Regions from separate parts of the Homo sapiens genome. Here regions 2, 3, 4, 5, 6 and 7 are each linked to region 1. The links are contacts of gene promoters, found by promoter capture Hi-C in blood cells and fetal thymus (Javierre and others, 2016). All regions are on one chromosome and are shown on one strand. Each heading gives the region's core, a stretch centred on a gene start or on the middle of the fragment in contact. The rest is flanking DNA. Distances are from core to core; before and after follow the strand shown.

Region 1 (3,177 bases), core at 195-2,694:
AGGAGTGAGGACAGGACTGGGGGAGGGTAGTGAATATGTATATGTGTACACCACTCACGCATATGTGTTTGTATCCTAGTGATTAACTTAAATGTGTTTATGGTGGTTGCCCGACAGGATAATGTGTGTGGAAATGACTGTACATTTCAGCGACTTCATGTTTATCCAAATGTGTTCAAAGTTACTCACAACTCCATAAAAAAAAAAAAAAGCTGTAAAATCACACATTCTACTTCCATTTCTGTCCTGGCTTCCAGATACTTAGCGATTTAAGTTGAACAGCCATTGCGTAATTTACTAATACTGGCAGCGATTTTTAAGAAGATTACATCGACGGGATACTGAAAAGCAAATGCAGAAAGGAGGAAAAATAGTTTCCACCAAATTGTTTCACCATCAATGTAACATTTGGCAACAAAAGTGGACAGGGTCTTCCACCCCTCCCTCGCCTTTCTTTTCTTGCCTTCCATCTCTGGCCCACCGCTAAATTTCCACCTTGTACAAAAGCGCTAGCTGCAGGGCGAGGGCTGGGGGCGCGGCGCAGAGCGCTCTCCCACGCGCCGGGGATCAGGTGCGGAAGGCTCCTCTCTAATAAACAGCCCATTGAAAGGGCCGCCCGCTCTTTATTGGGGCTTTTCAAAGTTCGCCTCAAACCTCCCTTTAAAAGATTGAGTAATTATAATGGTCAGCGATTGGCAACCGCGAAGTTGCCGCTTCTAGTAAGGAAAATAAAAAGCCTTTAGTAAAACAACTGAATTTCTGGCTCCAGTAGTGGCTGCTGGGGACTTGGCCGCCTCTGGAGCGGTAACAGGTAGCAGGAGTGAGTCCCTCTCCCTTTCTCCACTTTCCCCCCTCTCAACTAAACTATCTCTGAACCTGATTTATTTTCCATGGTGTGAATACTCAAGGTATCCATGTCCCTTTCATTCACTGAAAACACAGCTTGACACTCCCAATGTGCGTAAAATACATGCACACAAAATATATATTGATAACATAGATTTTTTTTTCTTACTGTAAGAAGTGAGAAAGTGAAGTCATTATTGCTTTTGGGACTTTAAAATCAGCACTAGCAGATAATCATAGTTACCGTGCATTCTTTTAAAAAATCCAAGAAGCTCCTATGCTATCCACAAAAGAAACCCAAATTTTTAAAATTTAAATTAGAAAGCCTGCAGGGGGTACTTGAGTGACACGACTCATTATGTGTGAGTACTTATGGGCAATTATGGAGGGGGATGCTGGTCTCAATACACATACACACTCTCGCAAACGCACACATACAGAATATGTAGGTTCATCAGTCTTCAGTTATTGCTTCTATTCTGGGGCAAAAAAATGAAAGAACTGTAATTACCTTTGTTGTTAGTAGGTCCTGAGCAGTGATAGTCTCATAACCCTGGGGCCTCCGGACGCCGCGCCTCCTGCGTGGGCGAATTCCTCGTGTCGTGGCCGCGCGGGCGCTCAGGTTATATAGCCCAGTTAGTGATGCTAAGCGCGGGCGGGGCCGCTAGCTGAGGGGCTAGCAGGTCTATGCGCCTGACGCCTGCGCACGCGTCCAGGCTGTGCGCTCCCCGTTCTCCCCTCCTCCCCACTTCTCCCCACGCCTTGCTCGTCTCCCGCCCTCCTCCGACAACCGCTCCCCTCACCCTCCACCCCTACCCCCGCCCCTCCTCCTTCCTCCCCGGCATGCGCCATATGGTCTTCCCGGTCCAGCCAAGAGCCTGGAACCACGTGACCTGCCCATTTGTATGCCGCGGAGCGCTCCATTCCGGCCCCTTTGTGGCCAGAAGAAAGTGGCCCATCTGTCGCCAGTTAGAGACTCCGCGGACCTGTTTTTACCCGCAGGAGAGATTAACCCTTTCAGGCGGCAGAAGGGACGGGGATAGAGGGGGGAGGGGATTTGAGGGAAGGAAGGGAAAAGCTAATGTTAACTAGGTCTAGATCAGAGCGAGTGGCCTGCTTTCGCGCCGGAAGTAGGACAGAGGTGAAAGAGGCAGAAGCGGGGAGACTGAGGCACGCAGTGAAGAGTCCTCGCTCCTTTCGATTTCTTGTCCTGACACTGGCATCCAGAGCAGCATGACTCCTTGCCCTCTCTGAAAGGCCCATCCCTTGGCTTCTTCTCCTTGGCAGACGCTTTGATCATTGGCGCCAAAGGATGGCTTCTCCTAATCTCCGTCGGCCCCTCTAAGCAAACATATACGCCATATAAAAGCGGCTTCATCTGTAAACGCAGCGTTGAGATTAGTTCCCCAACCTCCCTAACCGGATCGTCCTCTCCCAGTTCCTTCAGTACAGAAAAGTTGTACCTGCCATTCTATCCCTACCATACGTGCAATTCTTCATGTCCTGACCTTCAGCTACGACTGTTCCTCCAGACCCTCTCACTACGTCAGTCCCCACCTCCATCCCCAGGATCTTGTCCTCAAAGCGAGCTAGTTCTCGCGAGGAGGCCTTGGTTCCATTGGCCTTTGCGCTCTCTTATGTGGGAGCTGGGGACTTCTTTGACGGTTGTATTCTGCCTTTTAACCATGGCCACTGGGTTGCTGGAAAGGGCACCCTCACTCAGCCAGTCCAGGGACGCTTCTGGTTCCCTGGCCAGCCCGCCCTGGACGGCCTCGGCTCTCTAGTCCAGGCATTGACCACAAGTACGGTGGTGGACACCTCGCCACAGCCGGACCTGCGCTCTTGCTCCCCTCAGTCTCGGGTCTGTATAAGATACTTGATTCAGACAAGCGTTTTCAAAGAGAAGATGCAATGGGCCTGTGCTGAACGGGTCTTTCCGATCTCTTTCTAGAAACGCCTTTAGCACAACCCCGGAAGGATTAATGGCTGCGAACTCCTCCAGACTTCAAAGCCTCTGATTTGAAACTCCCAACTTGAAGGTCAAGCAAAGACCACAGAAATTCTCGACCAGTTCTGAAGGAGCCATATTGTTGCCCAAATAGCAATTCTTTACTCTTTTCGAACAAGGGTTTTCCAGAATAATAGATTTTAAAAAGAAAGAAAGAAACTGGCCTGTCTACTCGTTCTTTCCCAGCTTTGCCTCTAATCCTTCATTAACTAACTCCTTACCCCCTCCCAGACCTGAAACCCTCTGCAATAAATACCTCTTACGTGAATTGCTTATTTAAAGGCAATTGCACTAAACATCCCTCGAGTTTGCAAACAGCGACA
Region 2 (3,177 bases), core at 407-2,906, 650 kb before region 1:
GATGATTTCTCACCCAGCTTAAAAACTAGATGGTATCATTGAATCTCTATATGTTGTCTGTCCCTATTCAGTCACTCTATTTCCCTTCACCCAGATGTGATCATTATTCTAAGATGTTTTCATTCATTTCCTTACTTCTTATAAAAATAATGGTTTCTGAATGTATTACTAAACGGCATATATTGTTTAATTTTGAGCACTATACATTACATAATGTAATTACCTATTAATGTAATTATTATAATGTAATTATACTTTTTTCTCTTAAATCTTGTTTTAAGATTTATTTGAGTCTTGGCATGTAGCTATAGTTAAATTTCATGCTGTATACGATTTTATTACGTGGATATACTTGTATTCATTGTAGTAGGGTATATTGGGTGTTCCATGTTTATTTTGTTTTTTGTCACTATGAACAATCGTACTGTGAAGATTACTGAACATGTGTTCTAGTAATATGTGAGTAAATTCTTTCATTGTATATCTAAGAGTGGAATAGGTGAGTCTCACAGAGAACGTGCATATTCAACCATGCAAGATAATGCCAAATTGGTGATACACTGATACACATTTCCACCAGCAAAGTGCAATAGTTCTCTTTGCGCTGCAGGTTTATCAACTCTGACAATCTTCAGACTTCTTGATTTTTCCTAATCTATGGGTATAAAAATAGTATTTCATCATGGTTTTAATTTGCATTTCCTAATAATGAGGTTGAACAATTTTTTTATGTTTATCTTCCATTCTCATTTCTGTGAAATGCCTTTTTTTTGTTATTTGTCCCCCTGCCCCCAATTTTGTTTTATTAGGGGTTCTTATGTATTGTGGATACAGATGCCTTTTGTACATATATGTTGCAAAAATCTTCTCTCTGTTAATGACTTGGTTCTTTTATGGTATATTAGTGAAAAGAACTGAATTTAAATGGTAGTTAAATTTATCAGTCTCTTATATGATTAGCACTTTTTGTGTCATGGTTAAGAAATTACTTTCTGTCCCAAGGTCTCGAGGATATCTTTATTTTTTTTTCAAAGGCTTGCCCTTAGTGTTCCAAATTTATTTGGAATTGATTCTTTGAAAAGGGTAAGGTAGTAGTCCAATTTCATTTTTCTCCATATGGATAACTATTTGTTTTAGTAACTTTATTGAATAGTCCAGTGGCTAGAGTGCCATCTGTCATTTCATGATTCTTTTTTTGCCTAGTTCTGTGTTGGGCTCTTCCATTCTATTCATCAAGTTGTCTATCTCTGCACAAATAGTACATGATATAGTTTTAATTACTATAATTCTAATGAGTCTTGATATCTAGTAGGACAAGTATCTGTATTTTCATTAGGAGCTGCCTGACGCATTCATATAAAATGAGAATCAGCTTATCAAATTCCTTGGAAAAGTATTCTTGTGGTTTTAATTAGAATTTTATTGAATTTGAGAAATTAGAAGTAGAATTCTTAAAAATGTTGAATTTTCTTTTTCATAAACATACTGTATCACCCTCATTTATTTAGGATTTCTTTAATTCTGATTTTGCTTTGTAATTTTCTGTATTCAAGTATTGTACATCTTTTGCTAAATTTATTTCTAGGAGTTTAATATTTTTGATGCTTTTGTAAGTTTTATCTAAAAACTTGTTTTTTATCTAGCAACCTTGTATAAATGTTCTTTTTAATTCTAATAATTTGCTTATACATTACATTCTTTGATTTTTATCTGTAGACAATCTTTTTTTTTTTTTTTTTTTTAAGTTCTGTTTCTTACTTTACTGTCTAGGACAACCAAGTCATAATTGAGCTTCTTTTCTTGTTCCATGTTTTAAATGGAGCGGTATAAACTTGTCATCTTTAATATTGATGTTTGGCGTGGGTGTTTGAAAAGGTATTCTTTATCAATTAATTCGGTCCCTTTTTTTTTTTTTTTTGAGACGGAGTCTCTCTCTGTCGCCAGGTGGGGGTGCAGTGGTGCAGTCTCGGCTCATTGCAACCTCTGCCTCCAGGGTTCAAGTGATTCCCCTTCCTCAGCCTCCCGAGCTGGGACTACAGGCGCCCGCCACCATGCCTGGCTAATTTTTGTATTTTTAGTAGAGACCAGGTTTCATCATGTTGGCCAGGATTTTCTTGATTCCTTGACCTCATGATCCACCTGCTTCGGCCTCCCAAAGTGCTGCGATTACAGGTGTGAGCCACCACACCTGGCTCCTCTATTTTTCCATGAAAGTATTTTGGTTGTCTTTGGTGGTGGTGGTGGTGGCCTTATGTAAACTCTTCATTGGGCATTAAATTTTAATGAATACTTTATCTACTAAAGTAATAATCATATGGTTTTGCTTTAATCTATTAATATGATAAATTGAATATGTATATTTTTCTTTTGTATTTATTTATTTATTTATTTTTTGAGACGGAGTCTTGCTCTGTCGCCCAGGCTGGAGTGCAGTGGCACGATCTCATCTCAGAATGTGTATATTTTTCTAATGTCAGACTAACTTTGCATTTCCAATTTGGCAATATATATTATCTTTTTTCAATATGAACAGTCTTGGATATGATTTGTTACTAAGAGTCTTACATGTGTGTTCATGATTTGAGATTGGCTTCTTTTTTTCTTACACCTAATTAGCCTGTTTTTAATACTGGCCTCAGAGAAAAAAAATTATTTTTTTATTTTTTATTTTTGATTCTCAGAAGCGTTTTAAGAGTGGAATGATCTCACTTGAAATTTGATAGAAGTCTCCTGTAAAACTATGTGGACCTGGTGGTTTTGTATTTGGGATAAGGTGGGGAAAAGGTGGAAATTAACTACAAGTCCCATCTCTATATTGTATAACCAGTATTCACTTAGTCTGTTCTTTTTAGTAGGTTGAATTTTTCTAGGAATTAGAGCATTTATTTTTTTCATGTCTGTTATTTCTGTCTTCTCTCTGTCTTGTCACAAGGTTTCTATGTTTTATTAGTCTTGACCCAAAAATTTAAAAAAAATTTTAGTTTTTATTGACACTATTTTGTGTTTGTGTTGTGTTTCACTAGTTTATACTATTACGTTTGTTACCTTTTCTATTTACTTGAGCTAATTTTGCTGTTCTTTTTGTAATTTTTTAGATTGGGTTCTTAATTTTTAGCTTTTCTTCTGTAATACAAACATTAAAGCTGTACATTTACCTCTAAGTACTGATTTTTGTGG
Region 3 (3,177 bases), core at 494-2,993, 630 kb before region 1:
AAACGTAAGTCTGGTTGATTTTTGTTTTGTTTTGTTTTTTTCCTCCTAAATAACTCTCAAGTCCCTCTTCTTTGTCTCTGGTACCATATTAGTCTAGCCTATCATCATCTTTCACCCAGATTACTGCAGTGGTCCACCCACAGCCCCTCCGGGCCTCCTCCAGACCATTTTCCACAGAGCAGCCTGAGGAGGCCTTGCAAAATGTCCATATTAGTTTAACACTCCCCCTTTGTTGCTTAAAATCTTTTGATAGCTGCCTATTTCTTTTAATATAAAGACAAGTCTCCTTCATGTAGTCTTACAAGGTCCTGCCTAGACGTTTGTTACAGCTTCCCTCATTAGGTCGTTTCATTGTACTTCCCATGTTCTCTTCCCTTCTGCCACATTGTGCTTCCAGGCCCTGCTACTTGTTCCTGATGGCCTCAGGGCATTTTCCTATGCTTTGAAGTCCTCTTTCCCAGCCCTTTCCTTTCAGCTTCTACTGATAAACCCCCACTGGGGTATTTGAAATAATCTTTTAAATATTGCTTCCTCTGACTCTTCCCTTATCTCTCTAACATTTCCCCGGCATTCAACAAGGAATACCTTGCCTTTGTAGCGTTTTCTGTTTTATGTTTTTTTGTGAGTTTATTTGATTAAGATCTATATCCTCAGCTTGGCTGAAATCTCCATTGTATATTTAGTTTCTTGTACAGATTCCTAGCCCCAAATCGTAGACACTCAATAACTCCTTAATGAATGAATGAATTTGTTTTCTTTATTGAATCTAACAAGTACTGTATTTTGTATATTGTTAAAGCTTAAATACTTTTTTTGATTCAAAGTAAATTCATAGGTTCACAAGGCACAGTATGGATTAATAAGCAATACCATTTCCTGGTTGGTTGTTATAGAGATTACATAAGAATTCACACATTTACCAAAACGAGGTCATTCTTGGGAAGAGGAGTAGGAAGATAAAATCATGGGAACCACTAGCACATACCTAGGTCTGCCCTTTTAGTTAGTAGAATTATTTTTCTACGTTATTTCCCCAGCCACTCCTCTCACCCTAATTGTCTGTATTATAGCTTTCCCTAATTGTGAACTCCTAATTGCTTTCAACCTAAATAAATATGATTCTTTCTAAAACACTCAGGAATAACAACTGTTCACTTATAAACAGTTTTTGAAGTTTGGAAAGCAATATAGAGGTTTGGCTTTACTTTAGAAAAATATTACAGAAGCTACCTGTGTTCTCCGCCTACTTCACACATGCCCATTTAGCATTTGATGTACTTCATATAATTAAATTTGTTCTGCATCCTAAGGATTTTCCTGAGCCCCAGCCGCCTTGATAAGGTTGTTAAAATGAACAACTCATTGCTAAGATTACCTTTTCTCCCTCTCTTGGGCAGTAGAACTCAGCTGAGAGAATAGCGGCAACTAGGAGAAGAAAGGGTGATGGGTTGAGATTTCTGGAGATTTCAGCTGAGGGAGTAAAGAAGCTTCAGAGGATAAAGATATTCTTTATGTCACCATTAGCAGAGAAGTCAAGGATCTGCTGGACAGAGCAGCTTTTTGAGTGTAGGTATTTTAGCTAAGTTGGATATTATACACCACAATGAATGTGAATATAAAAAACAAGGGATTTAAGTGTGAAATTGTGACCACAGTATTGGCTAAAGACAATATACTTATAGATGTTGATATTTAATTTCACCACACCCACAGTTTATCCTGGCATCCCAGTGCCTGGTCCATAGTAGTTATTCACAATGTTGTTTAACTGACTGGACTTGGATGTGTGTTTGTGTGTGTTTTTTAAATTATTTCACCTTGTGTATGGTTGTACTTGTAGAAATGTTTTCATCTACATTTATATAAGTGTACAGTACTTTGCAATAAAAATACCTGTACCAGAATTCTTCTCTTACAAAGTGTTTCTTATGATTATACACAATAGACTTGACTGCGTTTGGATGATGACTGTCATAATAGGCCTTAAGATAGACAAAGCACAAGCTTTATAGTAATAGTTTTGAAGAAAGACTATATGGTAATTACTAGATCAAGAAAGCATTATTGCATTATCTGTGCAGATAGAAGCCTTTAGGCAGATGCCATAGTTTTTTTACTTCATCAGTCTTTTTATATGTACACCTGACTGCCAGAAATAGTTATTAATTCTTCAATGAAGATGGTTTTGCAGACTGAATTTATGTGTATGTATATAGCACGCACACCCAGCCATTTTATTTTTATGTTCAATCTAATTCCTTTAAACAAAAGACTATGAAATACTACTACTTTTCTGTAGGCCATGTGATAAGGTTGTTAGGGCTGGACAGAAAGAAAAAATATATTTATTTGCCATACCCTGAATATATGAAATGAAGACTAGATTTCAAAAATCTTACTTTCAGGCATCACAGTAATTTACAAAAAGGCCAATAAGTTACACAAGCATTTGTAGTAATTTATGTAAAAGATGTGAAGCTGGTAAGGGATGGTTCAAAAACTTACATATCAGAATCTGCTTAATACAAATTTTAGGAAAAGAATCCACTTCTTTACAAGGCAATACTCTGATCACTATTTCCTGAACAGTTATTGAAGGTGTTTCAAGCAAGAGTTACATACTAGTATAGATTTTTAATGCAAATGGCCATATTTGTTTTGAAGGTGATACCTTGTGGGTTTTCTTCAACTCTTTCAAAACTTGAATTTTATATCATTTTGTTTTTCCTCCCATCCCCACATCCTAAGTGCTAAAAGACTCTAAAACTCATCTTGTCACCTGCTGTTTTGTTCAACGGGATTCTCTTCAGAAATATAATCCTAAAGTTTGGGAGGGACTCTTAGAGTAGACACTTAAGCAGAGATGGAACAAAGAATTAATAATCCAAATTATATGAAGCATTTAAAAGTCTGTAGAGTAGAAGCCATTACAGAATCACCTTTAGTACGTGATTAGATACCTTTATTTCTGAATCTGTTTACATTTTATTTTTGGCAGGAGCTGGGTAATTAAAAATATTTGTATGGATTTATTGCTTTCAAATTTGTGGTGAAGACATTTTAGAAGAGAATCTTAGCTCTGCATATACGACCCTAGGCAAGTCACTTAACCTTTCTGGCTCGGTTTCTCATCTGTGAAATTGTGATAAAAATACTCGAACAGGATTACTACTATTG
Region 4 (3,177 bases), core at 255-2,754, 610 kb before region 1:
GATTCCTTTATCATCGTTTGAAGAGCACTTTTTAGCCCTCTGCTAAACTCTTGCTGTGGTCACAGAACTCTCAAATGGTGAAGATCATTTTAAATATGCATGAGACACCATGTTTTTTCTTCCATGGTTATTTTTTTTTAAGGACATATATAATGTTTTACTTGTGTATGTATATCATCTCAATTATGAGCCCCTAGAAATAAGGGATCCAATTTATTTCATTCAGTAAGTTATTAGTTGTGTACACTGGAATATTGGTTTGGGTGCTTAGGATTAGCAGTGAATAAAATACACGAAAATTCCTACCCTTATGGAGTTTACTTTCAATTGCTAGGAGACAGACCAAAAAAATTTAAAAGTGTATATATATATGTGTGTGTGTGTGTGTGCGTACGCACACATTCTCACACACATATATGTATGTTAGATGGTAAGTGTTATGGAGAAAAACAAAGTAGGGAAGGGAAATAGTGTGTGCAGTGAGGGAGAAAGAAAGGGGAGGTTGAATTACAGTTATAACAAGGGTAGTCGGGGAAGACCTCACCTAAAAAATGAGTCAAGAGCTGAAGATGGTGAGGAATAAGCCACATAGGAAAAGAGTCCTACAGGCGGAGGGAATACCAACTGAAAAAATCTTGTAACAAGAGCATGCCCAATGCATTCAAAAGGTAGCAAGTGCTTAGGAGGGCTGGAGCAGGTGAGCAACTAGGAGAGGAATAGGAGGCCAGGTCAAGAAGATGACAGGTGGGCAGATCACATAGGGTCTTGTATTTCATTTTAAGGAGTTTGGCTAGTATTCTAAATAAGATGGGACACCACTGGAAGCTGTTTTTAGCCAACGAGCAACAGGACATGATTTATTAGAATCTGATCAGTCAGAGAAAAACTTGCTGTGGGGCTAAGGAATTGGGAGCAGGGGGACCAGTTAGGAGGCTAATGCAGTAATCCAGGTGAGAGATACCAGTGACTTCAACCTGGGTGGTGGCAGTGTAAGTAGTAAGAAAAGGTCAGGTTCTGGTTAAAAATAGAGCTAAGAAGATTTGCTGATAGATTGAATATGTGGTGTGAAAAAGGAGTTAGAGTTTAGGGCCTGAGCAAACTAGTAGGCTGTAGTTGTCATTAACCAAGGTGAAAAACTCGAGGGTGAAGCAGGATAGGGAGAAAGATTATGAGCTTAGTTTTTGACAGGTTAAGTTTGAAATGCCTATTAAACATCCAAATGGAAGTGCAAGATTGGATATACAAATTTGGAATTCAAGAGTTCTGGGCCAGGGATGTATATTTGTGACACGTGAGTGTGTAGTTGGTATTTATAGCTGTGAGACCTATGATCACTCACTCAAGGGAATGAGTGCTGCTAGAGAAGAAAGAAGCTTAGGCACTCCCAGCATTAGGAGGCTGAGGAGAGATGAGTCAGCAAAGTAATCCAGGAAGGAACGCTCAAGAAGTGAAAGGAAAATCAGGAGAGTGTGATAACCTGAAAGGGAAGTAAAAAGTTTCAAGGAGGTGGGAATGATCTACCCCATGAGAGACTACTGATAAGCCAAATAAAATAAGGACCTAAATAGCCATTAGCAACTCAGGAGTCCTAGACACTGGTGACTTTTATATGCAATTTTGTTGGAGCAATGAAATTAAAGCTTGATTGAATAAAGTAACAAGGAATAGAGAACTTGGAGACTCCTGACAATTTTGCAGTGAAATAGAGAAGTAGGGAGTAGTTGGAGTTTCTTTAAGATGGGAGAAATTACAGCATGTTTGTATATTGATAGGAAAGATTAGAGAGGAGGAAGTGGATGGTGTAGGGGAGGAGGAGCAGTGTCCTTGAAAAAGTTATCTGCTACATAATTTATTCAGGGTGTTTTCAAAGTTCTGCACTACCTTGGACATCTGTCTTTCTCCCTGACTAGAGCAGAAGCTCTTTGGGAAGTGCAGCATCCAGCACTTACAGCAGCATTGTCATTCACCAAATTCTTGAGTTCCCCTAGATAAGCAAGAGGGGATAGGATCTAGTACAAGTGAGGTGTTTGGCCCTTGTTGTGAATTTGCAGAGGACATGGGCATAGGTGAGATTGGAGGGTAGATGTGGTTCGTAGGAAGTTCTTTGGTAGCTTCTACTCCTCCATGAAACGAGATGTTATTGGCTGAAAGTGAGAATGGGGAGACGACAGTTCATACATCTGTGTGACCCATTAATGTCCAGCAGAGTAACTAGTCGTTTGTGGTCAAGTGTAAAAATGAATGATTGAGTTGTCTATCTGGATGAGCCTTTCGTTTATTTCATAGTTAACATGTTAATGAACATGCAATTAAAACATCCATATCAGCTCGAATGGCTCCTCTTTTTCATCAGGTATGGTTTAGCAGTTGTTTGAATCTTTAGCACCTTAATTTTTGTTTCATTCAAGTGATTTTCCTGAAGTCATTGAAGAATCTACCTTGACACCAATTTTAACTAGAGAAATTCAATTATTTGCTGAAAGTTAATACTGCTTTAAATGCTGGACACAAAAATAGTTACGCTGTGTTTCCCAAAGAGGTCATCATGGTCTAGTCAGGAAGAGGGGTGTCCAAGGTGAGTTACACAGAGCTTTGGAAAAGCCTCAGTGGATGGTGTGGCAGATGACGTCCCTGAGTTTGCTAGAGGAAAAATGACTCTAGAAAACTGAGTATTCTTCCCTGTTCTATTTTATGGATGTGGTGGTCAGAGAAGGACATAGTGACCAATTTCTGTGACCCTCACTTCCACCATTGGTCCCGTGGCAAGACTCAGTTACAAGCCTTCTCTCCCTTTGGATTGTACCTCACTCAGGAAGTACGGAATTTGAAGATCAGATTTCATTTCCAGAAAATCCATAAGGCAGTCACAGCTTATGACCAAGGCTCACACCTTTTTTTCTGCTTACCTTTCCCTGCTATTGTCCTGACTTCTTGCCTCCCAAGATTGATATGTAAGAAGTGGGGCCATTTTTTTGCTTTTCTCTGAAAAACTAGTCAGCAAAGAGGTTGGAATTTTAATTGGTTTAACTACTTAACTTAGAAAGCCAAGAGTTAAATACTTAGAAGTGAAACTTTTTTTCTTTTCCTGATTGGGTCTTTCTGAACAATATTTTTGCTGTGATTATTGCACATTTAAGCCCAACTGTACTTTTTATCTGAAAAAAAAATAGGATATGA
Region 5 (3,177 bases), core at 399-2,898, 590 kb before region 1:
TTAGTATCCAGGCACCTGGGCTCTGCTCCAAATCTCTAAAAGAAATTATTGCAAAGTGGCCCAGGAATGTGCATTTTACTAAATGTCCAATATCATCTTTATGCATACAAATGGTTGAAACAACTGGTCAAGATGTGGACAGGTTGAAACAACTGGTCAAGATGTGGATTGTGGCCATGTGGCCATATAGTGCTTTTCAACAGCAGAGTTATTTCTCCCAGAGTAATAGACAAGAACAGGTCCATAGAAATAGTTTCTCTACAGCCATCTGTTGTTCATTTTTCTTCTCCACATCCTGAGATGGGGCACACAAAAAAGAAAGTCATCATTTTTATTCGGTAACAACCACTGCATTTTATTTGGTAACAGCCACTATAGCATACCTGCTATAGTGACAGCCTCCTAAAAGGATGCCTCTTGCTGGTTAAACATTTATGTGCTTTGTGTGAGAGGGGCATTTCATATGCCATAAAACACTGGTGTTCCATTTTCATAGCTTTATTCTTTTTTTAAATTTCTGTACTTGTAATTTTCAGTGATTTTTAATGGAGTTAGCCAAAAAAATAATGTTTCTCCCAAGTAGTGCACTATTATAGTGCTGTTTAGTGGTACTCCAATACAATACTCAACCAATGAAATAAAGCAAAAATATGTCCCATACAGAGCACAGCACGCCATGGTCACTCTGATTTCTTAAGTGATGTGAAACAAAAAGTAACCAAGAAAAAGAAGACAAAGTGTTTGTGGAGACAGCTTTATGGCTCCAAAATTACATTTTTACATTTATAGAAACAGCAACAGAATAATTTGATTCATTCCCTGTGTGTAAAGGGATGCAATGTTGATTGAAAACCGTCAGTCAAAAGTACGTTGTGCCTAGGAAACTATACATAGTGCTAATCGGGAGTCTTTGTAAAGAGATAATTCACTGAGCATTTGATAAATAAGCACAATGGGTATGCTCTACACACTAGTAGAGCCTGAGTCTTATCTGCCCCAAATTAAATGTTTTGTAGCCCATGCTTATGGTGAAGATCCATTTTCAAGCATTAGCCAAAGCATTGTGCCACAAAATTATTAAAAACTCAAAGAAATGAAAATTAACCAGATTTTATTATTATATATAATTCTGCATAAAACAGCCAAAAAGTGGAAAAGCTTAGGCAACTTCCTTGTCATTTTTCTCTATAACATTAAGCAATGAAACTCAATGACGTTTTCAGTTACTTTTAGTAAATTTACAAGCGCCTTCCCTAAAATGTATACATGTGAAAAGATAGGGATAAGAAATCAAATTAGTGATATATATATACTAAAGACATTAGGGTGGCCAGGAGGTAGCTCTAAGCTGGAATAATCAAGAAGGCTTCCTGGAAGAAGGGGCCATTGAGCTGAACCTTTATAGGAATTGGGGAACAGAAGATGGGAGAAGATGGTAGTAATAACATGATATGAAAAAGTGCATTTGGTAGATTATGTGCTTAAATATAGTTGTAGGAAAATATGTGTGTTGAGAAGGAGTAAGAAATCAGATTGGATATCCTGGGAAAGATGTCAGAATAGGAACAGCTCTGGTCTGCAGCTCCCAGTGAGACCAATGCAGAAGGCGGATGATTTCTGCATTTCCAACTGAGGTACCAGGTTCATCTCATTGGGACTGGTTAGACAGTGGGTGCAGCCCACAGAGGGCAAGCAGAAGCAGGGTGGGGCGTCACCTCACCCAGGAAGCACAAGGGATCGGGAACTCCCTCCCCTAACCAAGGGAAGCCATGAGGGACTGTGTGTGAGGAACAGTGCATTCTGGCCCAGATACTATGCTTTTCCCACATCTTCACAACACACAGACCAGGAGATTCCATCAGGTGCTTTCATCACCAGGGCCCTGGGTTTCAAGCACAAAACTGGGTGGCTGTTTGGGCAGACACCAAGCTAGCTGCAGGAATTTTTTTTTCATATCCCAGTGGCATCTGGAATGCCAGCAAGAGAGAACTGTTCACTCCCTTGGAAAGGGGGCTGAAGCCAGGGAGCCAAGTGGTCTTGCTCAGTGGATCCCACTCCCACGGAGGCCAGCAGGCTAAGATCCACTGGCTTAAAATTCTCACTGGCAGCACAGCAGTCTGAAGTAGACCTGGGACGTTCAAGCTTGGTGGAGGGAGGGACATCTGCCATTAGTGAGGCTTGAGTAGGTGGTTTTCCCCTCACAGTGTAAACAAAGCTCCCTGGAAGTTTGGACTTGGAGCCCACCACAATGCCACAAAGCCACTGTAGCCAGGCTGCCTCTCTAGATTCCTCCTCTCTGGGCAGGGCATCTCTGAAAGAAAGGCAGCAGCCCCAGTCAGGGGCTTATAGATAAAATTCCCATTTCCCTGGGACAGAGCACCTGGGGGAACGGGCGGCTGTGGGCACAGCTTCAGGAGACTTAAACATTCCTGCCTGCTGACTCTGAAGAGAGCAGCGGATCTCCCAGTACAGTGCTCTAGCTGTGGTAAGGGACAGACTGCCTCCTCAAGTGGGTCCCTGACCCCCGTGCCTCCTGACTGGGAGACATCTCCCAGCAGGGATCAACAGACACCTCATACAGGAGAGCTCTGGCTGGCATCTGCTGGGTGCCCCTCTGGGACGAAGCTTCCAGAGGAAGGAGCAGGCAGCAATCTTTGCTGTTCTGCAGCCTCTGCTGGTGATACCCAGGCAAACAGGGTCTGGAGTGGACCCCCAGCAAACTCCAGCAGACCTGCAGAAGAGGGGCCTGACTGTTAGAAGGAAAACTAACAAACAGAAAGCAATAGCATCAACATCAACAAAAAGGACGACAACACAAAAACTTCATCTGAAGGTCACCAACAGCAAAGACCAAAGGTAAATAAATCCAAGAAGATGAGGAAAAACCAGCGCAAAAAGGCTGAAAATTTCAAAAACCGGAATGACTCTTCTCTTCCAAAGGATCACAACTCCTCACCAGCGAGGGAACAAAACTGTATGGAGAATGGGTTTGATGAATTGACAGAAGTAGGCTTCAGAAGATGGGTAATAACAAACTCCTCCGAGCTAAAGGAGCATGTTTTAACCCAATGCAGGGAAGCTAAGAACCTTGATAAAAGGTTAGAGGAATTGCCAACTAGAATAACCAATTTAGAGAAGAACACAAATGACCCAATGGAGCTGAAAAACACAGCACAA
Region 6 (3,177 bases), core at 458-2,957, 570 kb before region 1:
TCATTCTATTTTAAATACTGTATGCATGAGAAGCTTCTATGTTCTTGCAGAATCCATCTTTAACCAGAATCGAAGCATAATTTTCTAAGTAATTATGGAATAGTTAATACATTAAAATATGAATCAGGAGCATCATAGGCATATTTTGAACCATATAGTTTTCTAAACCTATATATATATGTATGTGTGTGTGTGTGTGTGTGTGTGTGTGTGTATTCCCTATCTCAGAGTCAACACCTTAGTTACTTTTCTGACAAATAAAATATAGTCATAACATAATCTCTCTTATTGCTCCTACTGATAAATTATTTGCATCTGGCTTACTTGTAATTTGGTGGCAAAATCAATGTTTGGTGAAATGATTCTGAAAACTTCAGGGGCACTATAGTTTTCATTTATTTACATGATATGCTATTTTTAAAGAACCAGTCATTGCCAGAATTCTACGTTAGTTCATCTTCTGAGAATATAATGGGAAAAAAAAGAAAGAAAGAAGTTCATATCTAATGTACATGGAGTTTTCTTCTCCAGTCTGATAATTCACTCAAGTAACATGCCTCAGATTTCACTTCCAGGCCCACCCTTGCTCGTCTCTGCTCAATACCAGAAACTAGAGTTGTGTGTCATCCAAGTTTTTCTAATTTTTTATTTTTTCAGCAGGTATCACTGTGTGCCCACCATGTGCATGAATAAAGTCCCTATTTCTGGGTGGCTACAGCCCAGTTGTGAAGATAACACATAGATGTGAAATATTGAATGAATAATACCACAAGTCAGTATACATTTAAATATGCCAAAGGCAGAAATTGTTGAGGAAATTCACTTCTGAAAACTCTTAACATAGTCTGTAAAGCTTAATATTCGCCAGTTGTTCAATTTCCATTGTTATTTACAAAAATGAAGCTTTGAATTAAGGAAAAAAAAAGCACCATCTGCCTACCCATGCAATAATGCTTGGTTTTATTCCCAAGCATATCAACCACTGGCTTGGCATTTTAACTAACTGAAGTAATTTTCTCGTTAGAGTGTGTCTGTGTCTACAAAATGCATTTTTCCTGGTTACTCATTTTAGTATTTCTGCTCTCTAGCTCTGCCTATGCTGGACTTGAAGCTTTCTGTCTGTAAGTACAGCCACCTTGTTAAATGATTCATACCTTCTAGGTACCTCAAGTGCAGACTATACCTGATGCCCCTTCTTTTCCAGTTACTTATTCAATCAATCCCATCAATCCTTTTATTAATTGATTGTTTAGTCAATATTTATATTGAGTGCCTATTTTCTGTGGGCACAAACGGCACATACCGGCCTTTAAAGATACAGAGAAATGTAGAGCATACCTGCCCTCAACTACATTTCAAAGAAAAAGTGCATATAAAAATATTCTGTCTGGGCTGGATGTGGTGGCTGATGCCTGTAATCCCAGCACTGTGGGAGGCTGAGGTAGGTGAATCACTTGAGCTCAGGAATTAGAGACTAGCCTGGCCAACATGGCAAAACCCTGTCTCTACTAAAAATACAAAAATTAGCCGGGTGTGGTGGCACACACCTATAACCTCAGCCACTCTGATGGCTGAGACATGGAGAATCTCTTGAACCGGGGAAGGGGAGGTTACTATGAGCAGAGATTATGCCACTGCACTCCAGTCTGGGTGACAGAGCGAGACTCTGTCTCAAAAAAAGAAAAAACAATCTGTCTTAAGTAGAATTTTCTAAGTGTCAGAGAGAATGTTACACATTTATTCATTCAGTCCATCAATTTATTTAGCAAACATTTATATTTATTGAGCATTGTGATATGTCAAGCATTCTGACTCACTGGAGATACAAAGATGAATAAATCATATATGGTGCCTGCCTGCCTTATATGAATTTAGAGTAAGTTGATACCATGGTAGGCTAGAACTTTGTTCCTCCACGTTTGTCTGAGAACCAGGAGCATTGGCATCACCTAAGAGCTTCAGAAATAAATAATTTTAGGCTCCATCCAGATATACTGAATCAAAGTCTGCATTTTATTGAAGTGCCCAAGTGATCCAAAGTGAAGTTTGAAAATCACTGGGCTAGAAGGATTATGGAATGCTTTTGTGGAGGAGCTGAAATAAGTAGATATCATCAAGTTTTATTAAAAGAGGAAGGAAGACTTGTTAAAAAGGATTGGATAACATCTGAAATCTAATTTAGGATATGGGGTTTTCAGAGCTGGTTGGGAATGATTATTCAAACAATGATGGGAAATGACCCAATAGTTGGTTGATGATCCACAGGGAGAGGAGTGGTGATAATGTATGATAATATGGCACTCAAAGCTTAGAGAAAGATGAGTGGTCTAGATTCTAGACTCTAGAAGTAGCAATGGGATACTGATGGTGATGCAGTGGCTAAAGGCAAGATTTTCTCATCCCAAGCATGTAGAGGTAAACACTCATATTCTCACAGGTGATATTTAAATTAACTTTTAGGATTTATATTTTTTGAATCCTAAAATTACAGTGAAAGTCAATAAGTAGATACAAATCCAGCTAGTAAAATGTTTTTATATATGCCAGTTTTTTTCAAAATACATTTAATTTATTGGACCTTAAATATGAGAAAAAAAGGAGGTAATCTTAATGGAGAAAGGCTGTTTACATTTTTATCTACAGAGTTATGTCTTCATAATCAAGAGAAGTCCCAGACAAGATTGTGAGAAAATGAAGTTTATCTGTAGTGGCTTTATGTACTTCAATCATCTTTCTGTTATCTTCCTCTCAGTTTTTGTAATCCAACACAAGGAAATGAAGACACCATGTGGTCGGAAGTCAATAAGAGTAATATTGAGGGAATGGTGACCTCCTCAAATGCATTGGTTTTTGTTTTTGCTTGAGACAGAATTTTGCTCTGTCATCCAGGCTGGAGTGCATTGGCGTGATCAAAGCGCACTGCAGCTTCCCATGCTTAAGCTATCCTCCCATATTAACCTCTCAACTAGCTGGGGCTACTGATGCGCACCACCATGCCTGGCTAATTTTTTAAGATTTTTGTAGAGATGAATTCTCACTATGGTTGCCAGGCTGGTCTCAAATTCCTGAGCTTAGGTGATACTCCCACCTTGGCCTCCCAAAATGCTGGGATTACAGGTGTAAGCCACCACACCTGGCAAATGCATCATTTTGAATCACAGGATCTCAACTGGCTTC
Region 7 (3,177 bases), core at 187-2,686, 550 kb before region 1:
AAATACTCCTTTTGCATAAAGAGCAGTCCACCAGACTCATGATGAGCTTTCTCCTTTTGTTCCTTTAAGTTAACTCTTCTGCAAAATGTTTTTTGTTTGTGTATGTTTTGCAGTGTCCTTTTCAAAATTAATGAGCTAGACTTCTTGAATCATAAAACTATTCTGAAAGCCCACATTATTAGAACCATGGGGGAAGTTTGCATCTGTTGATTAGCTGAGAAGCTTGCTTTCACTATTAATATGCAACAGTAATTTCAGTTATGTTCTGATAAAAGTAAGTATAGATATTAGACAGCAACTCAAAAACTTTTGACAAGACAGGTTTCTACAGAGAGGAATCTCTAGTACTCCAGGGTTTTGCTTAGTAGTAAAGTTTAACATCTTTACCCTTTTTAAACTCTTGAAACCTAAAACTCAACTAGATAATGTACTTCAATCTTATTAGTCATAAAAAATGTACTAACTACAATGGCCTTTCCTCATGGACATCTAAGGTTACCCCACAAGAAACTTCAGAGTAATTGAAATCAAGGTCTTAGCAGGCTCTTCTCTGTATTTTAAATGTGTCCGCCAAGCAGTATGCTCAGGGGCTTGTTAATGGACAGTTGTTGGCTTGTTAATGGACAGTTGTTTAAGATCATGTATACATATGTAACAAACCTGCACGTTGTGCACATGTACCCTAAAACTTAAAGTATAATAATAATAAAAAAGAAAATATGGCACATATACACCATGGAATACTATGCAGCCATAAAAATGGATGAGTTCATGTCCTTTGTAGGGACATGGATGAAGCTGGAAACCATCATTCTCAGCAAACTATCACAAGGACAGAAAACCAAACACCACATGTTCTCACTCATAAGTGGGAGTTGAACAATGAGAAAACATGGACACAGGATGAGGAACATCACACACTGGAGCCTGTTGGGGGGTGGGGGGCTGGGAGAGGGATAGCGTTAGGAGAAATACCTAATGTAAATGATGAGTTGATGGGTGCAGCAAACCAACATGGCACATGTATACCTATGTAACAAACCTGCACATGTACCCTAGAACTTAAAGTATAATAATAAAAATAAAAAAATTTAAAAAGATAATGTTCTTTATAAATGTCATTGACCTACCTACCCTATACTTGTAGTCTCTCCACTAAGATTTATAATTTTCTGTTCTCATGTTAAAACAGAATGCATATAATTTATTTCTAGTAAAGCTCCATCAAATAATACAAAATACAATGTCTTTATTTCTTAAATGTACATATGTACTGACTGAGAGTGGCAGGAGGCAGCCAAATGCCTAGGCAGATAGGGCTGTGTTTTTGGTTAAACCCCACCTCCAAGTCAAAGACAGTTTAAAGCCTGATAGCCAAGCTACAAATTAAATCCTTGGACCAGGTTGAGAACACCTCTTCCTGTTTGGCACATTCCTCTGATTCATCCCCCCAATCACCTATTTTACATATACCTACCCTTTCCTAATTGGTTTTCTACACTGTCCTGCCCACCTTTGAGTGGTATTTTCACTTTAACCTTTTTTGCATACTCACAAACCAATTAGTATGCATTCCCCATTCTCAACCCATAAAAGGCCTTGGACCAAGTCACACAAGGAAATTTCCTGCCTTTGGGTAGGAGGGCCACCCCCACATCCCCTCTCCACTGAAAGCTGTTTCATTGCTCAATAAAATTCTTCTCTGTCCTCCTCACTCTTCGGTGTCCAGCATATCCTCATTTTCCTGGGTGCAGTACAAGAGCTGGGGAACCACCGAATGTGGGTACAAACTATAACACAAGTGAGCTGGGACACACCAGCATGGCCTAGTGGGATCTGGGCAGGGTGTCGCCAGCCAGAGGTCCCGGCTTGCAAAGTGACTAAGAAGAAAAATCCTACATCATAATGTTATCTGTTACTGTATAAATAAGAAGAAATGCTGAGAGAGGAATAGTTATAAAAATAATTTTTATTTAGAGAGCTTGATAAATGTTTTCACAGGATTCAGATGTAAAAATGATCACAGAACTCAAGAAAAGCAGGCATGCTATGGAAAACATAATGAACAGTATACTAATGTTTTCATACATGAATATGGAAATCTTTAAAATAAGCATATTTTAAATTTTATAATTTAAAATTTATTATGTGTAGCAAAATTTCTAATATTTCATTTTATGATCCACACATTAGTTATCTCATATAAAAAATTAACTTGAATATTTTTAAATTTATATATTATCTATTAACCCCATTCTCTTTTGTATTCTTTCTCTCTGTCCTTATCTCTGTCTCTTTCTCCATAAGCACACACATAGTTTTTTAAATCAAATGCAAACATGTAATATATTGATAGAAATGTAAAAATTGAGGTTTATATGAAATTTCAGATTATGACAGATATAAGCACTAAAATTTTGTTTAGAAAATGCAAAGAAAATATTTCTCAGAAATAAAAACAATGATTACTTGGTGCAGGCTAATTTTAGTGACTATATATAATAACCAATAGATGCAAATTTTACATGCTTTATTGATCATAAACTGCGATTTAGATGAAAAAATTGTTCAGTGAATAATTATATTAAAAATTTAGATAAATTTGTTATTGTTGCTTTGTGAAAATAAGACATGTTCTTCCATTAGGAATAAAGCTTTTCCAAAACCTCTGGGTTCCTTAACCACTAAGATGGACCTCATTATAGGAATATCTCGGACCTTGTCCAAGAGATTTCATAACTCAGCGTCAGCACTTTAAGTCTGTTTCATCTACAACAGTGAAGCATCACAAATACTACAAACAGAGCTTCTCTAAGTTTCAGCATAGTGCAGTATGCTCTGGTTGCAAATTTCACCTTAATTTACTTTTGTTTACTTTCAGCTAAAGAGCATGTTCAATATAAGATTAATGTAAAATGAGTCCCAGCTGCAGGCAAAGTGAGTTCATACCTTTTCCTTTATTTTGCTCTCCAATGCCTTTACTCACAGCTTTTATATAGTAGCCACTGTCTGACAACTACCAGTTTGTATATTTGTTTGTTTTTCTGAAAACTACCCCTCAAGTAAATTTGTCAAAAATTGGAATGAACTGTCTGATTGTCATTTTGTTTAGTAAGTTTTATTTTTTGCTAACAGACTTGTTTATTGTTGAATAGATATGACTTCTAAGCTGTTAAC

What was found. Contacts are between HindIII fragments. The CHiCAGO score rates a contact against its expected background, and 5 or more counts as called.
Region 2: a contact is called between a fragment that was not itself captured here and the fragment with the promoter of NEUROD1 in region 1, in 1 of 17 cell types (non-activated CD4 T cells). The highest score is 5.0, in non-activated CD4 T cells.
Region 3: a contact is called between a fragment that was not itself captured here and the fragment with the promoter of NEUROD1 in region 1, in 1 of 17 cell types (total CD4 T cells). The highest score is 5.4, in total CD4 T cells.
Region 4: a contact is called between a fragment that was not itself captured here and the fragment with the promoter of NEUROD1 in region 1, in 14 of 17 cell types (non-activated CD4 T cells, total CD8 T cells, fetal thymus and 11 more). The highest score is 9.2, in non-activated CD4 T cells.
Region 5: a fragment that was not itself captured here is called in contact with the fragment with the promoter of NEUROD1 in region 1 in 8 of 17 cell types (non-activated CD4 T cells, naive CD4 T cells, total B cells and 5 more); the score reaches 8.1 in non-activated CD4 T cells.
Region 6: a fragment that was not itself captured here is called in contact with the fragment with the promoter of NEUROD1 in region 1 in 3 of 17 cell types (M1 macrophages, total B cells and M2 macrophages); the score reaches 5.7 in M1 macrophages.
Region 7: a contact is called between a fragment that was not itself captured here and the fragment with the promoter of NEUROD1 in region 1, in 2 of 17 cell types (M2 macrophages and neutrophils). The highest score is 6.6, in M2 macrophages.

The regions. Positions count from the first base shown.
Region 1 is chr2:181,679,073-181,682,249 of GRCh38, forward strand. NEUROD1 (neuronal differentiation 1) reads right to left here and starts at 1,445. Exons shown (of 2, transcript NM_002500.5): 1 at 1,358-1,445. RefSeq lists an enhancer at 2,095-2,671. The HindIII fragment of the contact is 9,386 bases long and covers 1-3,177 here.
Region 2 is chr2:181,027,938-181,031,114 of GRCh38, forward strand. All of the region lies in intron 3 of UBE2E3 (ubiquitin conjugating enzyme E2 E3), which reads left to right. Among named protein-coding and RNA genes, the nearest start is that of UBE2E3-DT, 49 kb to the left of the region's middle. The HindIII fragment of the contact is 3,673 bases long and covers 1-3,177 here.
Region 3 is chr2:181,047,608-181,050,784 of GRCh38, forward strand. All of the region lies in intron 3 of UBE2E3 (ubiquitin conjugating enzyme E2 E3), which reads left to right. Among named protein-coding and RNA genes, the nearest start is that of UBE2E3-DT, 68 kb to the left of the region's middle. The HindIII fragment of the contact is 517 bases long and covers 1,486-2,002 here.
Region 4 is chr2:181,068,889-181,072,065 of GRCh38, forward strand. No RefSeq gene overlaps it. Among named protein-coding and RNA genes, the nearest start is that of LINC01934, 53 kb to the right of the region's middle. The HindIII fragment of the contact is 267 bases long and covers 1,372-1,638 here.
Region 5 is chr2:181,087,382-181,090,558 of GRCh38, forward strand. No RefSeq gene overlaps it. Among named protein-coding and RNA genes, the nearest start is that of LINC01934, 35 kb to the right of the region's middle. The HindIII fragment of the contact is 984 bases long and covers 1,157-2,140 here.
Region 6 is chr2:181,107,809-181,110,985 of GRCh38, forward strand. No RefSeq gene overlaps it. Among named protein-coding and RNA genes, the nearest start is that of LINC01934, 14 kb to the right of the region's middle. The HindIII fragment of the contact is 1,196 bases long and covers 1,110-2,305 here.
Region 7 is chr2:181,128,141-181,131,317 of GRCh38, forward strand. All of the region lies in intron 1 of LINC01934 (long intergenic non-protein coding RNA 1934), which reads left to right. Among named protein-coding and RNA genes, the nearest start is that of LINC01934, 5.9 kb to the left of the region's middle. The HindIII fragment of the contact is 2,432 bases long and covers 221-2,652 here.